3 separate regions of the Homo sapiens genome follow, and all the other regions are linked to region 3. Evidence: promoter capture Hi-C in 16 types of primary human blood cells and fetal thymus (Javierre and others, 2016). All regions are on one chromosome and are shown on one strand. Each heading gives the region's core, a stretch centred on a gene start or on the middle of the fragment in contact. The rest is flanking DNA. Distances are from core to core; before and after follow the strand shown. Region 1 overlaps PLEKHB1 (pleckstrin homology domain containing B1). Region 2 holds the start of PLEKHB1 (pleckstrin homology domain containing B1). Region 3 holds the start of RELT (RELT TNF receptor).

Region 1 (4,210 bases), core at 803-3,302, 290 kb after region 3:
TGAGTCAAGTCCCATCCTTCCCACAAACAGCTTCCTGGCTGGTACCCATGATAACAATTGAGCTGAACCTGGGGACCCCTGGTTGGGGAACAGGTGAGTTCTATTTGAGACTTCCAGCCCTAGAAAGCTGCCTCCGTCCAGAAATGCCTCTCACACCAGGAGCTCGGCCCTCTCTTTGTAGCTGTGACTGTCACCCTCTCAGGCTTTGTCTCATCCTTCATTCTGAATAAGATGGCAGTGTTCTCCTCTGGGGCCTGATCCACCTCTACACCAGCCCAGGAAGCCCCATCTGTGCCTGCCCTCAGGTGGTCCACCAGTCTCCCCCTTTGGTTCCCTTCCAGTCTCTTCCCCCTTTCTATCCCAATCACCAATAGAAATGCTAACATCCCTGCCTGGTAGCCAGACTAGCCCACTAAAGCTCCCCTGTAAATGGGGGCTCCATTAGTTCTGCTGCCGAGACTAATAAAGATTTGGTTGGCTCTAGCAGTAACTGTGGCTTGCTTTGTTCCCCCAGAAGGCCCTGTTTCCCTCTCCATGATCCAGCAGCTACTAGTGCCTTCACTGGTCTAGTGAAAAAGAGTGTGGATTCTGAGATCAGTTGGAACTGGTGACAGCATATTAGCTGAGTCATTTGGGGCAAGTCACTTAACCTTTCTGGATTTTGTTTTCCCTACACTTAAGGTAGCTGGTTGAAGTTGACCATTCCTGAGGGCTCAAGAGGAGGGACTGCCTTGGAGTCTCTGTTGTCTGAGCTGATGGATGATCCAAGCCAGGTCCTGCCTGCTTTCTGAGAATCCTGTTCATGTTGGAGTCTTTTCCAGTAGGTTCCCATCCTTCTAGAGTTGAATCAATGAATTGTTCTCATAGAAAACCAGGTGGTCAGGAAAGGAAACACCATCATCCTGCATCAGGCTTCTTGGGGCTGTCAGATAGAAACTCCCTGTTCAAACTGATTTAAGCCAAAGGGAAAAGGTTAAGCCACATAACTGAGAAGTCCAAGAGCTGTGTGATCCAGGGGCTCAAAGAGTGTCACTTAGACTTTGCTTTGTTTCCATCTTTACACCTGCAGGGCTGGCTCATTTGGAAGCTGCAGTGATGTTCAGCAGCTCCAGGCTAATGCCCTCCTGAGTTCAAGTCCAACCAAGAGAATTTCTCTTCCTCTAACAGTATGACTGAAAGTCCTGGGCCTGGTAGACATCAGTCTAAATTGGGTCCTGTGGCCATCCCTGCATCAACCCCAGTGGTCTGGAAACGGATGGTCTAAAATAACAGGGCTTACAGCAGGGGTGGGATGGTGTCCCAGAGGAAATTCAGGGCACTGTTCCCAGAAGTAGGATGAATAGATGAAAGCTGGTTGGCAAAAATATCAGGTATTCACCTCAGCCACAGTTCCAGAGACACCAACTTAGAGGTGAGACATGTATAAAAACAGCAATGATTGAATGAAGTTACAGAGGAACGTGGTGCAGTTGGAGCTCTGAAGAGGAGGCATGCAACTCTGCCAAGGGAACTAGGGAAAGCTTTGGGACAGGAAGTGGAAATTTATTTTGAACCTTGAAAAATGAGTAGGAGTTTGCCAATCTGAAAAAGTTGGGAGAGCTTTCCACACAGAGAACAGATGGAAGAAATGGTATGAGCAAAGGCATTAGAGGCTTGAGAGCACCCTGAAGTTCAGGAACCAGTCTCATGCTATAGCAGGTCGCATGGTGAGAGGTGGTGGATGAGGTCAAACTATAAGGAACCTCTTGGGCCAGGCTACTGAACACAGGGCATAGTCCAGTATGTGGCCCCGGCTTAAGGACAAGCATGGATGCAAGAGGAGCCTCTTGAGAAAACCAAGGTCTGTTAGCATTTGTGCAGTCAGAGGTTACATACCCTGGGTATCCTAAGGCCTGTACTGTGTTCAGGGGACCCAGCAGTGCATCAGACCCAGTCCATGCTTTGGAACTTCAGCCTTAATTTTTTCTTTTGTTTTGCTCCCCTCCTTTCTCCTCCTCACAGCCTTAATTTTTTCTATTTTTGTCTTTCCTCCTCCCCTCCCCTCCCTTCCCCTCCCTTCCCCCTCCCTTCCCTTCCCTTCCCCTCCCCCCCTCCCCCTCCCTTCCCCTTCCATTTCCTTCCCTTCCCCTCCCCCACTCCCCCCTCCCCCTCCCCTTCCCCTTCCCTTTCCTTTCCTTCCCTTCCTTTGCAGCAGTGAGAAGTGGGGAGAGAGAACAGAGTTTGATCTGTAACTGACTATGAACAGTCAATTGAGATAACTCACTACCTTCAGCCCAGCCTCAGCCTTAATTTTCTCCCAGATGGACCCAGTTACCCTGTCAGTCCTTTAGTGGCATCCCCATTACGCCATCTCATTAGAGGGTGTCCTGCATGCTCCTGCAGGGACATCTCTGAGTTTGGCTCTGGGAATGACCTTTCCTCTTACTCTCCGGCACAGTCTCAGGACTTTTAGAGATCAATATGTAGGAAGAGCCCAAGCTATCTAGAGTCCTTTCCCAAGAATGTGGGTTAAACAAGGATCAGGGAGCTGGCTGGGCAGGGCATTTGAGATCAGACAGAGCTGGGGACATTGCCATTCATTGCCCAAAGCTTCCCCTGCTTTATCTCATAGGTCTTTGCAACAACCCCATGGGCCTGGTGTTACTATTCTTATTTTACCTACAAAGAAACAGATGCAGAGAAGGAAAGTAGATTGTCCAAGTCATGCATGCTGTGTCAGAATCTGGATTCAAATGCAGGTCACTTGACCTTGTCTACCACACCACACTGCTTCTGCACTATAAATCCTGTGTGGCTCATTACCTGGCAGGAAAGTAATTCCCAGAGAGGAGGTCAACTGTATAACACAAATATCTCTTCTCTTTTCCTTTAGCAAATGCTTTCCTGAGAAGTTTTGTTGGCAGACAGGGCTGAGAGCTGGGTACTGGAAGATGAATGAGATTTGGGCCCTACATTCAAGGAGTTTGTGCATGTGCGTGCGTGCGTGTGTGTGTGTCTGTCTGTCTATCCCAGACATGGGCACAGACTATGACAACATGGGCTGTGGGAACTGGTAGCCCTGAGGCTGTAGGGTCACAGAGAAAGCAGCCCTTAACTCAGGTATGGGTGGAAGTGTCTTAAGCTAGATGTAAAGACAAATGCTCTTCCAACTATCGTCTTGTGGGAGTTGCTAACTTAGATGAAGAGGAAACAAGAACTAAAGCAGCACTCAGTGCCGAGAGTTCTCTGGGTGAGGCTGGATCTGCAGTGTGATGGGTGGAAACGGGGGTCAGCAAGGTCAAACCGTCAGGGGCCTTGGATGCCAGGGAAGGAGCTTGAACTATATACTAACTTCCAGGCCATGGAATGCCTCCAAAAAATTTGAAGCAAAGGAAGGACATGGTTGAACCTGGAAGTTCGATCTCACACACACAAAAACAGACATTCATTCTCATAGACAACATGGTCTCAACCCAGACAAAACCATCTCTGCAAACTGTCTGAGCAGCCCAGGTACTGCCTGGCCACTCATAGCCAGCTCACTGGGGGTGCTCAACTCCACATCCATTCCTGAGACCACCTGCCTCCATCAGCCCCTACTAGAGGAGATTCTGTAGATAGCAAGGGTCTGTGGCACTCTGAGCATCCTGGCAGTGAGCACTTCTCCAAAATCAGGTATATGACTCAGTCTCAGAACTAGAGCCCTACATTCAGAATACCTGGCTGGATATGACCCTCGATGCCCTCTAAAATGGATTTGTCTCCCCTTTGCCCCACCTGAAAGGGACCATGCTACTGCTTTCTGCCACCCATAGGGACTGGGAGTACTCTTACCCTTTCCCTTTCCTGCCCTTGTGGGATAGCTCAGTCTGTGAGACCTCCTTCCTCAGGAGTTGAGATCTACCTCCTGAGAACTCCCAGGGTTGGGTCCCAGATTTACTTCTGACCTCAGATCAGTGTTCCCCAACCTTAGAATTTCCCACAGAGGTTTGCAGATATCTTAAGTGGTCATCAGGAGACTTCATTGTCAGAATCATGGTCCAATCAGTCTATCACCCTTAAACCTGAAGCACAGAACCCTGAGGTTTGACCCTTTCTAGGTTGGTCACAAGCCTTGGGGATGGAGAGGGGTAACAAGCTAAGGCCAGGATATGCTTAGGCAGGAACATATACTGAATATAGAAAGAGTTCCAACTACAAAGCAGATGTCAGCCTCTGTCCTCTCAGATTG
Region 2 (4,412 bases), core at 1,913-4,412, 270 kb after region 3:
CCATTTATTTTTTAAAACTATTTATTTATTTAGAAACAAGGTCTCACTCTGTCACTGAGTCTGGAGTACAGCAGTGCAGTAACAGCTCACTATAACCTCAAACTCCTGGCCTCAAGAGATCCTCCTGCCTTCACCTCCCAAATCACTGGGATTATAGGTGTGAGCCAACTGCGCCTGGCCCATGATTCCATTTATATGAAATGGCCAGAATAGGCAAATCTGTACAGAAAGAAAGCAGATTAATTTTGCCAGGGACTTGGGGGGAAGACAGATTGGGAGTAACTGCTAAAGACTATAGGGTTTCTTTTCTTTTCTTTTTTTTTTTTTTTTTGAGATGGAGACTCGCTCTGTAGCCAGGCTGGAGTGCAATGGTGTGATCTCGGCTCACTGTAACCTCTGCTTCTCGGGTTCAAGTGATTCTCCTGCCTCAGCCTCCTGAGTAGCTGGGATTACAGGTGCGCGCCACCACGCCCAGCTAATTTTTGCATTTTTAGTAGAGACAGGGTCTCACCATGTTGGACAGGCTGGTCTCGAACTCCTGACCTCAGGTGATCCGCCACCCTTGGCCTCCCAAAGTGCTGGAATTACAGGCGTGAACTACCATGTCTGGCCTAGGGTTTCTTTTTAGGGTGATAAAAATGTTCTGAAGGCCAGGTGCGGTGGCTCACACCTGTAATCCCAGCACTTTGGGAGGCCGAGGCGGGCAGATCACGAGCTCAAGAGATCGAGACCATCCTGGCCAACATGGTGAAACTCCATCTCTAAAAATACAAAAATTAGCTGGGCATGGTGGTGCACGCTTGTAGTCCTAGCTACTCGGGAGGCTGAGGCAGGAGAATCACTTGAACCTGTGAGGCGGAGGTTGCAGTGAGCCGAGATCACACCACTGCACTCCAGCCTGGTGACAGGGCAAGACTCCATCAAAAAAAAAAAAAAAAATACCCACTGAATTTTTTACTTTAAAAGGGTGAATTTTATGGTAGGTGAATTACATCTCACTAAAATTATCACTTTGGCCGGGCGCAGTGGCTCACGCCTGTAATCCCGCTCTCAGGGAGGCAAGAGGCGGGAGGATAGCTTGAGCCCAGGAGTTCGAGACCTGCCTGGGCAATATGGCGAGACCCCGTTCTCCAGAAAAAGGAAAAAAAAAAAAAGACAAAAAAAAGCGTAAAATTATCACTTTAAAGTGTTTTCTTTTCTTTTTTTTTTTTTTTTTTTTTGAGACGGAGTTTAGCTCTTGTTGTCCAGGTTGGAGTGCAGTGGTGAAATCTCGGCTCACCACAATCTCTGCCTCCCGGTTCAAGCAATTCTCCCGCCTCAGCCTCCCTAGTAGCTGGGATTACAGGCATGTGCCACCACACCCAGCTAATTTTGTATTTTTAGTAGAGATGGGGTTTCTCCATATTGGTCAGGCTGGTCTCGAACTCCCGATCTCAGGTGATCTGCCCGCCTTGGCCTCCCAAAGTGCTGGGATTACAGGCATGAGCCACAGCGCCCGGCCATTTAAAATGTTTTCATAAGCACTTTTACTTTTGCTCAAATTGCATCTTGATATAAACTTCAAGTTTTTTAAAATAAAGATAATATAAATTATTCTCATTATATTATACTCTCTAGAAAATGTAAGTAGTAAATTTGAATTTGATGAGCCAGTCCACTATTTCCTAAACAATGTATTATCTGTGGGCTGTTCATTCACCAGGGACACTTGAAATGGCAAAATCTTTTCCTCTCTGCCAATGGTTCTGTGCACCATAGCCACAAAGAAATGTAAAAGTTACTTGTTGGCTTATTAGTCTCAATAAGTTTTAGTTGATTGAACAAACAAAGTCTCTCACAGCCAGGACTGCTGCGGCTGGAATTCCTGACATACTGTCATACCTCTCACTCGTCAATCTACACTCTCCTCCCATCTACACAGCTCTGGAAATTAAAAACAATCCAACCATGACTATCATGGCTTCAGAGGTCTATGAACTCCCAGGAATTATACGCAGATTTTTTCCTGAGGACAGTCTACACTTCCTTATTGGCTTCTCAAAGAGGGTCACTGACCAGCTTTTAGAGACATGGGCCAAGTCCGGCTACGTTTAGATTCGGTAGTAGTGTCTGTGGTTTTAGTTTGCCACGTCCTTTCCTCTTTTTTTCGTCATAGTGCCCGCTCTTTGGGAGGTAGGGGAGAGTCTTCCCCTGAAGTCTCCACTGCTGCTGGAGAACCTTCCTTTTTCATCTGGTTGCTAAATCCAGAGAATGAAATCTAGGAGATGATTGCACCGTCCCCGCCCCTCAACATGAAGGATGCCCCACTGCCCATCGGGGAGGGGAGCAGGGAGAGCTGGAGAGAGGCTGGGTCGGGGCAGGACCCAGGCGCAGATCCTCCGAGGCCAGCTGCAGCCCTACCTACCTGCCTTCCCGTCTTTCCCCTCCCTTCTTTTCTCCTTCTGTCTTTCCTTCCTTCCATATCTCTTTCCTTGCCTCTTTCCCCCTCCCACTGCTTCCTTTCTTCCTTCCACTGTGGAGGTGGAAAATTTAGCTAGGAGAAGCTGGGACTGGGACGTTCCAGGAACCAGACAGAGAGTGAGTTAAAGGCACAGAGATGAAAACGCGGTATGGGAGAGCTGGTTCTTGAGTCGGCTAAGAGGGGATGAACTCAATGGTTAATAGGATTGGCCATGGCGAATCCCTCAGCAGGGCACGCACCGCACAAAGGGCCGAGGAGCGAGGGTAGCTCGAGGTCAGGATTACAGAGACTCAGGAGCAAGAGAGGAAGGCTTAAAGAGCCAGACTGCGCAGCCAGGACTGGGGTGATGGGCGCTGTCCTGCCAGGCCAAAGAATGAAGATGTAGCCCCGCCCCCAACCTAGGGAGGAGGACCAGCCCGGTTCCTGTCCTGCCCCCGCAACCTCGCCCCGATTCCACTCCGGGAACCTCGGCGATGCTGAGCCAAGACCACTTCTGAATCAGGGATGACTTGTCTAGTGAACCTAGGGTCAGAGCCATCAGTTGGAAAGGCTGGGAGGAGCCTGGAGAAAGAGGGCGACCTTCCTTGGGATCTGTGCGCTCCCTCCTTGCCTCCCCCTCCAGCCTCCCACTTGGTAGCACCTTCCTGATCCCCTTATCTCTAAGGCGCTCAGGGAAATGCCCCGCTGCGGGAGCCTTCTGGGAAATGCTGCCCTGGCCACCCAGGAACCATGAGCCCTGCAGCCCCGGTAAGGAAGAGTTCTCTGGGACAGGAGGAAGGGCCCAGGGCAGGGTGGGCACCCTTGCCACATAGGGGACGGGACAGAAGTCTTTTAGGCCCTGACATCCTCTGGTCTCTGAATGACATCCTGTGGCTGCTGGTAGGTGAGGGTTTGCGGGGCTGAGCTATTGAAGGAAATGATCACAGTCCGAGGTGATAGATACAGAAAGTCTTCCTTTCTCCAGGTGGGCTCCCGCCAGTCCATTCTTCACTGTGCCCTAGAGGGGCCTTTCCGACCCCCTAATCACACACCTCACTCCTCATCTTGAAACTCCCACCCCCAGCTCCAGTCACTGCGTCCTAACATCCAAGCTCTCCGCCTGTCATGCAAGGCCTCTGTGCTATTTCTTTCCAAACCCTGCAGCTCTATCGCCTGACACTCCCGATGCCCTCCCCACCCCTGCGCTTTATGTTCTAGACACACGGAAATGCTGGGCACTCTTCAACATCCTGACAGTATTCATAGGGGAAATTTCGGGTCGCCTAGGAAACTGCCCCTCATCCTCCAAGGCCCCTTTCAGCCTCCTCTGGGAAGCCTTCCTGAACCCCTTGAGAAAAGTCAGGCTCATCTTTTCCATTGTTAAATCACACCTTGTGCTCCAATTGTGTGTTTCCATGTAATCTCCCTCACTAGACTGGAAGCTGGGGATGGAAAGGGGAAGCATCAAAAAAACATGCAAAACTAGGAGCTTGGCTTCTCCTTGCAACTTTACTTTTTCTTTTTTTCTAGGAACTGAGTTCAATGATTCTTAAGAAAAAGTATTTCATGATAAATGAGTGAACAAATGTCTTAATAGAAAAGTAAAATTGCAGGCGGGGCTGCTTCTGCCCAGCTCTACAGGGGTAGACTACAAGTCCCAGTACGCCTCGGGTCAGCATCTCTTCACGTCACTCCCCCTCCCTGGGGTGGGCAGGTCCGGAGGGCGGGGCCCGGGGGCAGCTGGGCTCTCAGGCGCTGCGGGAGGAGAGAAATGCCCCAGGCTCTCCGGGGCACACAAAGCGCAGGCGCAGCGGGTTGGGTGGCAGCAGCATCGAGTAGCGGCCGCTTAGGCAGCAACATCCGCAACAAGTGTAGACAAGGTGGGTGCATCAAGGGGAGGGGCTGGAAAAGGAGTCTGCACCTGACCCTCTTGTCTGATCTGTGTCAAGACCGTGGAGAGGGGAGGGAGCGG
Region 3 (4,285 bases), core at 1,355-3,854:
GCCACCGCGCCTGGCCTGGAGCATTGAAATTTAAGTATGAGCCTGCTGTTCCTCCAGGCTTGTACTGTATGTACTTCCTTTTGGAATTCTAGCACAGCCAGCAAGCAGAGTGGCACCCACTACCTTTGGTCCATGACTCCAAGGCAGTCATCTACTCAGACCCCTGCATACAGCCACACTGTGGTGGCTCTGATTCTGTGACCCAGGATCCCCACCCCAGGCAGGGCCTGGCTGGGGCATGGCACCTGTACCCCTGCCTCCAGGTCCCCATCACAGCTCGTCCCAGTTTACTGGGACCTTGTGCTGTGTACCTACAATGAGGTGCACACATTCTCTGGGCCCACTTGCCCAGCTGTACCATGTGAAGTTCAACAAGATGGTCTCTGAGGTCCCTGAGCTCAGGGATTCCAGTGCTGACTCCATGGGTTCAGTTGAGATGCCAGGATTTTATAAAGCCTGTGATTCTGAGAGTCCTTTGTTCTCAAGCCTGTGGTTCCCCAAGCTCCATAAAAAGCGAGTCTAAATCTTTCCTGTGGCTTCCACAACTCCTTCCCTGTCTACTCACTGTGGAGCAACCCAGATGCTGGTAGACTCTCAGGGAGGAGCCCACGTCACAGTGGTTTCAGGGTCAGAGCTGGCTGCAGGAGGAGCTGGCGCATCCACCCAGCAGTAAATAATAATTAGGCTCCCTCCTAACCTGGGGGTTGCAGGAGCGAGAAGTGTTTGGGCTGTGGCCCCAGGAGACCTACTCTATGGAGCTGCTGCCAGGGCAGCCAGGTAGCCGCCTCCCACAGAGAACTTCAGGCAACATGTCTGGCACCCCAGTTTTCAGATGAGGAAACTGAGTTGGGGGTGGATTTGATGAAAACCTCACAGAGAGCTGGTGGTAGAGAGGGGCCTGGACCCTCTCTGGGATGTCTGATTAATAGCCAGTGCTCCAAAAAGCATTTCCCCATTTAGTTTATTGATTGAGACAAGGTCTCACTCTCTCACCTAGGCTGGAGTGCAGTGGCACGATCGCGGCTCACTGCAGTCTCAACTTCCTGGGCTCAAGTGATTCTCCCACATATTTTTGTAGAGACTGGGCTTCATCATGTTGCCCAGGCTGGTCTCGAACTCCTGGGCTAAGTGATCCTCCCAACTCAGCCTCCCAAGGTGCTAGGATTACAGGTGTGACCACTACACCTGGCCTTCCCCATTTGGTTTATTGAGTGACGACACCTGAAATTGCCACCATTTGAACTCTAGAACCTAGAGCTGGGGTGTAGATGGTCCCCTTACAAAGAAAACATTTCCAGGAGTGGAGGCATTCTGGATGCTCTGGCCTTCCGTAGGCTGGGATGTGGGACCCTGGAAGAACCCCTGCCCCAGCCCTGGAGGTCTCCATTGACATATGAGGGTGCTGATGTCATGATCCTGACATCAATGACCTGTAGCTCCTTATGCCCTTCCCCCACAACCTGAGCATGACCCAGGGAAATGAAAACTCATCCCCTGCTCCCCTCCCCATGCGGTGTCCAGTTCGCCTCCTGGAATCTCCTGGACCCTGGGGACCTGACCTTTTCCGTCTCCTAGCCCCTGGGTTCAGATTCTATGACTGTTTAGAACCCCACCCCCAGCCATCTATCCCCAGCTGACTTATTTACCTTCCTTTCTCCATCTCTGTCATGGGCTGTGATTATCCTGACCCCAGCCAGGCCTCTGGCCCAGCACTAGGTCCTCCCTGGTGTCTCAGTCTCCCATCAGCCCTACTGTCCCAGGAGGACCGCCTGAGATCCCCTGAATAGTACTGAGAGGGGGAACGGGCCACTGAGCTGCTCCCTCCAGTCCTGGCACACCCTGTAGCACAACTCCAGGGGACACGATTCGGAGTCGGAATACAGTGTGAATACTGCCTGGAGTTTGTGATGACTGGCATTGGAAACTGGCAGGGTGGGATGGCTGTAGTAGGGAGGGGGGCACTGAGTCACCTGTCCTGCTGGAGGGAAACTAACTACCCTGGCACAGAGAAGTGGTGCGGGGAGTAGGGGAGTGGAGGCAGGAGACGCCTCCTGGAGGATTTCACTAGGCCTTGAAGGATGTGCCGAAGCCCACCGTGTGGGCTTCCTTTATAGACTCACCTTCACCAGGCCTTTTCGCCAACTAGGTGAGGGTTTCCAGGGTTGGGCCTGGGCCTCGTCAACAAAGCAAAGTGAGGTTATTCTTCCTGGCCACCAACTGGCAGGAGGAAGATGAAGCCCAGAAAGGGGCAGAGGTGGCTCTAGTTACACTGGCAATGCTGAGAGGACCCAGAGGAGTATCTCAGTCTCCAGTCTCTTTATCTTGCTTCGCACAACTCCTTGCTTGGTTCAGAGCCTTGAAGAGGCGGATACAAGAGGCCCTCTGGGCACCGCCGCCCAGTCCCGCGCAGCCCCCTGCAGTTCCCAGGGGCGCGAGAGAGGGCGACGTAGAGCAGCACCGCCCAGCGGCAGAGCGGCGAGCCCCTCCGCGGCTCGGGGTGAGTCGGGCGCGGGGCGCAGACCGCGCTCTGACGTCGGGGGCGGAGCGGCCGTGACGCGCGGGGGCGGGTCTGCGCACCTTCCCGGCCCAGCCGGCGATTCATTCAAAAGGCGCGCAGGCTGCGCGGCTGTCCGGGCGCTCGCCGAGCCGGGCCGCGGCGCCGAGTCGAACGGGGAGCCGAGCTGGAGCTGCCGCGGCGCAGCCAGGTAAGGAGGGCGCGCGGAGCGCCCATCCAGAGTCTGCTCTCCGCGGCCGGGCCAGCGGGATACGGACCCTAGTGGCGCCCCCTGCCTCCCCGTGTCTCTGAGGAAGTTCGCGGGCTCGGCGGATGCGGCAGCCCGGCCGCGCGCCCCCCCACCCCACTCCTCCCGCCTCGCGTCCTGTCCCGGCGCCTTCCGCGCACCGGCCACCGCCAGTCTCCGAGCCCCGTGACCTGCAGGTCCTCCGGCCGCGACTCCGGGCCGGCCCTGCGTGGTGGCTGTCGGGGGGCGCGCGGGGAAGCAGCGGAACTTGCGGTGTGAGGGGCCGGCGGGGCCCGGAGCGGTCCCCGGCCCGGGAAACTTGGACCGAGACCAGGTTGTGGTGCGGGCTGGACGGCGGCGCCTCGGCGCGGCTGCGGCGCGGGGCGGCCAAGGGGGGGTCTGGATGGTGTCAGCCCGTGACTGTGGGTGACACGGCGCGTGAGGCGGCCTGGCCGGGCGAACGTGTGGCTGGGACACTGGGCGGTGACGCCGGGCCGAGCGGGCGACACAGAGGGGCTCTGTGTGTGGGAGACAGGCAGCGTGTGTGCGTGTGTTGTGTGAGGGAAAGACCCGGGGTCACTGGGGTCACGAAGTGCGTGGCTTGGGGCGTGACCGGCGCAGGGCCAGGGCCACCCGTTACTGTGAGTGTGAAATAGAGGGAGAGGAGCCCAAGTGACTGAGAACGAGCCGAGCTCGCTGGCGCCATGGTGTGCGTGTGGGGTCAAGTGGTGTCAGTGTGTGTGTGTGTGTGTGTGTGTCTGCGCCTAGGGTGATGATGAGTAAGAGGCAGGAGGAGGAGGGACCGGACCTAGGACACCTTCCGGCAGATGTGGGGCGATGAGGAAGTTGGGGAGCCAGGAGACAAGGGTCTCCAGGACTGTCCCCACGAGGGCACCCCTCAGGAGTTCAGCTTGGTGAGGAGATGGACCCTGAGGGATAGGCCCTGGCTGAGGGAGAAAGCCGAGGCTGGGCAACATCTGGTGGGGTGGCCCAGATGGCAGCAGGGTAGGGGCCCTGTGGTAGTCTCAGCTTCCCCCCGCCCACCTGCATCCACACACTCACGCATCGAAGTCCCTACACCTGGCAAAGTTCTGCCCCTGTGTAATCTGTATTCTCAGCGGACCCGGACACAATCTTGTTCTCAGACCCCCCCGCCCCCCTCCCCCGCGCAGGCCTCAGTCTCCCCATCTGCACACTGAGGTGCTGGGCTTTGAATGGACTGTGAATCATCACTTTGGGATCCTCTATTGTTTTGGGTCAACTGCCTGTGTTCTCCCTTCCCTTCAGGCAGAAAGACTGCAGTGGGGGGTGGGGGCAGGCTTCTCCTGGGGACACAGCGGCCCAGGGGCTGCACTCAGGGGCTACTGATAGGGTTGGAAGCACAGCCTTCTCCAAAACTGGTCAAGGAAACGTTAGCCTCCCACCCAAAGGCTTCCTGGTCCTCTGTCACGAAATGGATCCATAGACAATATGGATCCCCAAATCCATAGACATTCACTTCTCTGCCTGGGTGTCCTTTCTTCAGTTCCTTGGGTTGGGGGAGA

What was found. Contacts are between HindIII fragments. The CHiCAGO score rates a contact against its expected background, and 5 or more counts as called.
Region 1: a fragment that was not itself captured here is called in contact with the fragment with the promoter of RELT in region 3 in 6 of 17 cell types (M1 macrophages, M0 macrophages, megakaryocytes and 3 more); the score reaches 9.8 in M1 macrophages.
Region 2: the fragment with the promoter of PLEKHB1 here is called in contact with the fragment with the promoter of RELT in region 3 in 1 of 17 cell types (M0 macrophages); the score reaches 6.0 in M0 macrophages.

Annotation. Positions count from the first base shown.
Region 1 is chr11:73,662,330-73,666,539 of GRCh38, forward strand. PLEKHB1 (pleckstrin homology domain containing B1) reads left to right here. Exons shown (of 8, transcript NM_021200.3): 8 at 1-490. Among named protein-coding and RNA genes, the nearest start is that of PLEKHB1, 18 kb to the left of the region's middle. The HindIII fragment of the contact is 1,069 bases long and covers 1,519-2,587 here.
Region 2 is chr11:73,643,419-73,647,830 of GRCh38, forward strand. PLEKHB1 (pleckstrin homology domain containing B1) reads left to right here and starts at 3,163. Exons shown (of 8, transcript NM_021200.3): 1 at 3,163-3,208. The coding sequence starts at 3,191. RefSeq lists enhancers at 2,728-3,646, 4,282-4,412 and a silencer at 4,022-4,241. The HindIII fragment of the contact is 13,421 bases long and covers 1-4,412 here.
Region 3 is chr11:73,373,795-73,378,079 of GRCh38, forward strand. RELT (RELT TNF receptor) reads left to right here and starts at 2,605. Exons shown (of 11, transcript NM_152222.2): 1 at 2,605-2,705. RefSeq lists silencers at 2,325-2,634, 2,665-2,954, 3,045-3,124 and an enhancer at 3,290-3,584. The HindIII fragment of the contact is 14,706 bases long and covers 1-4,285 here.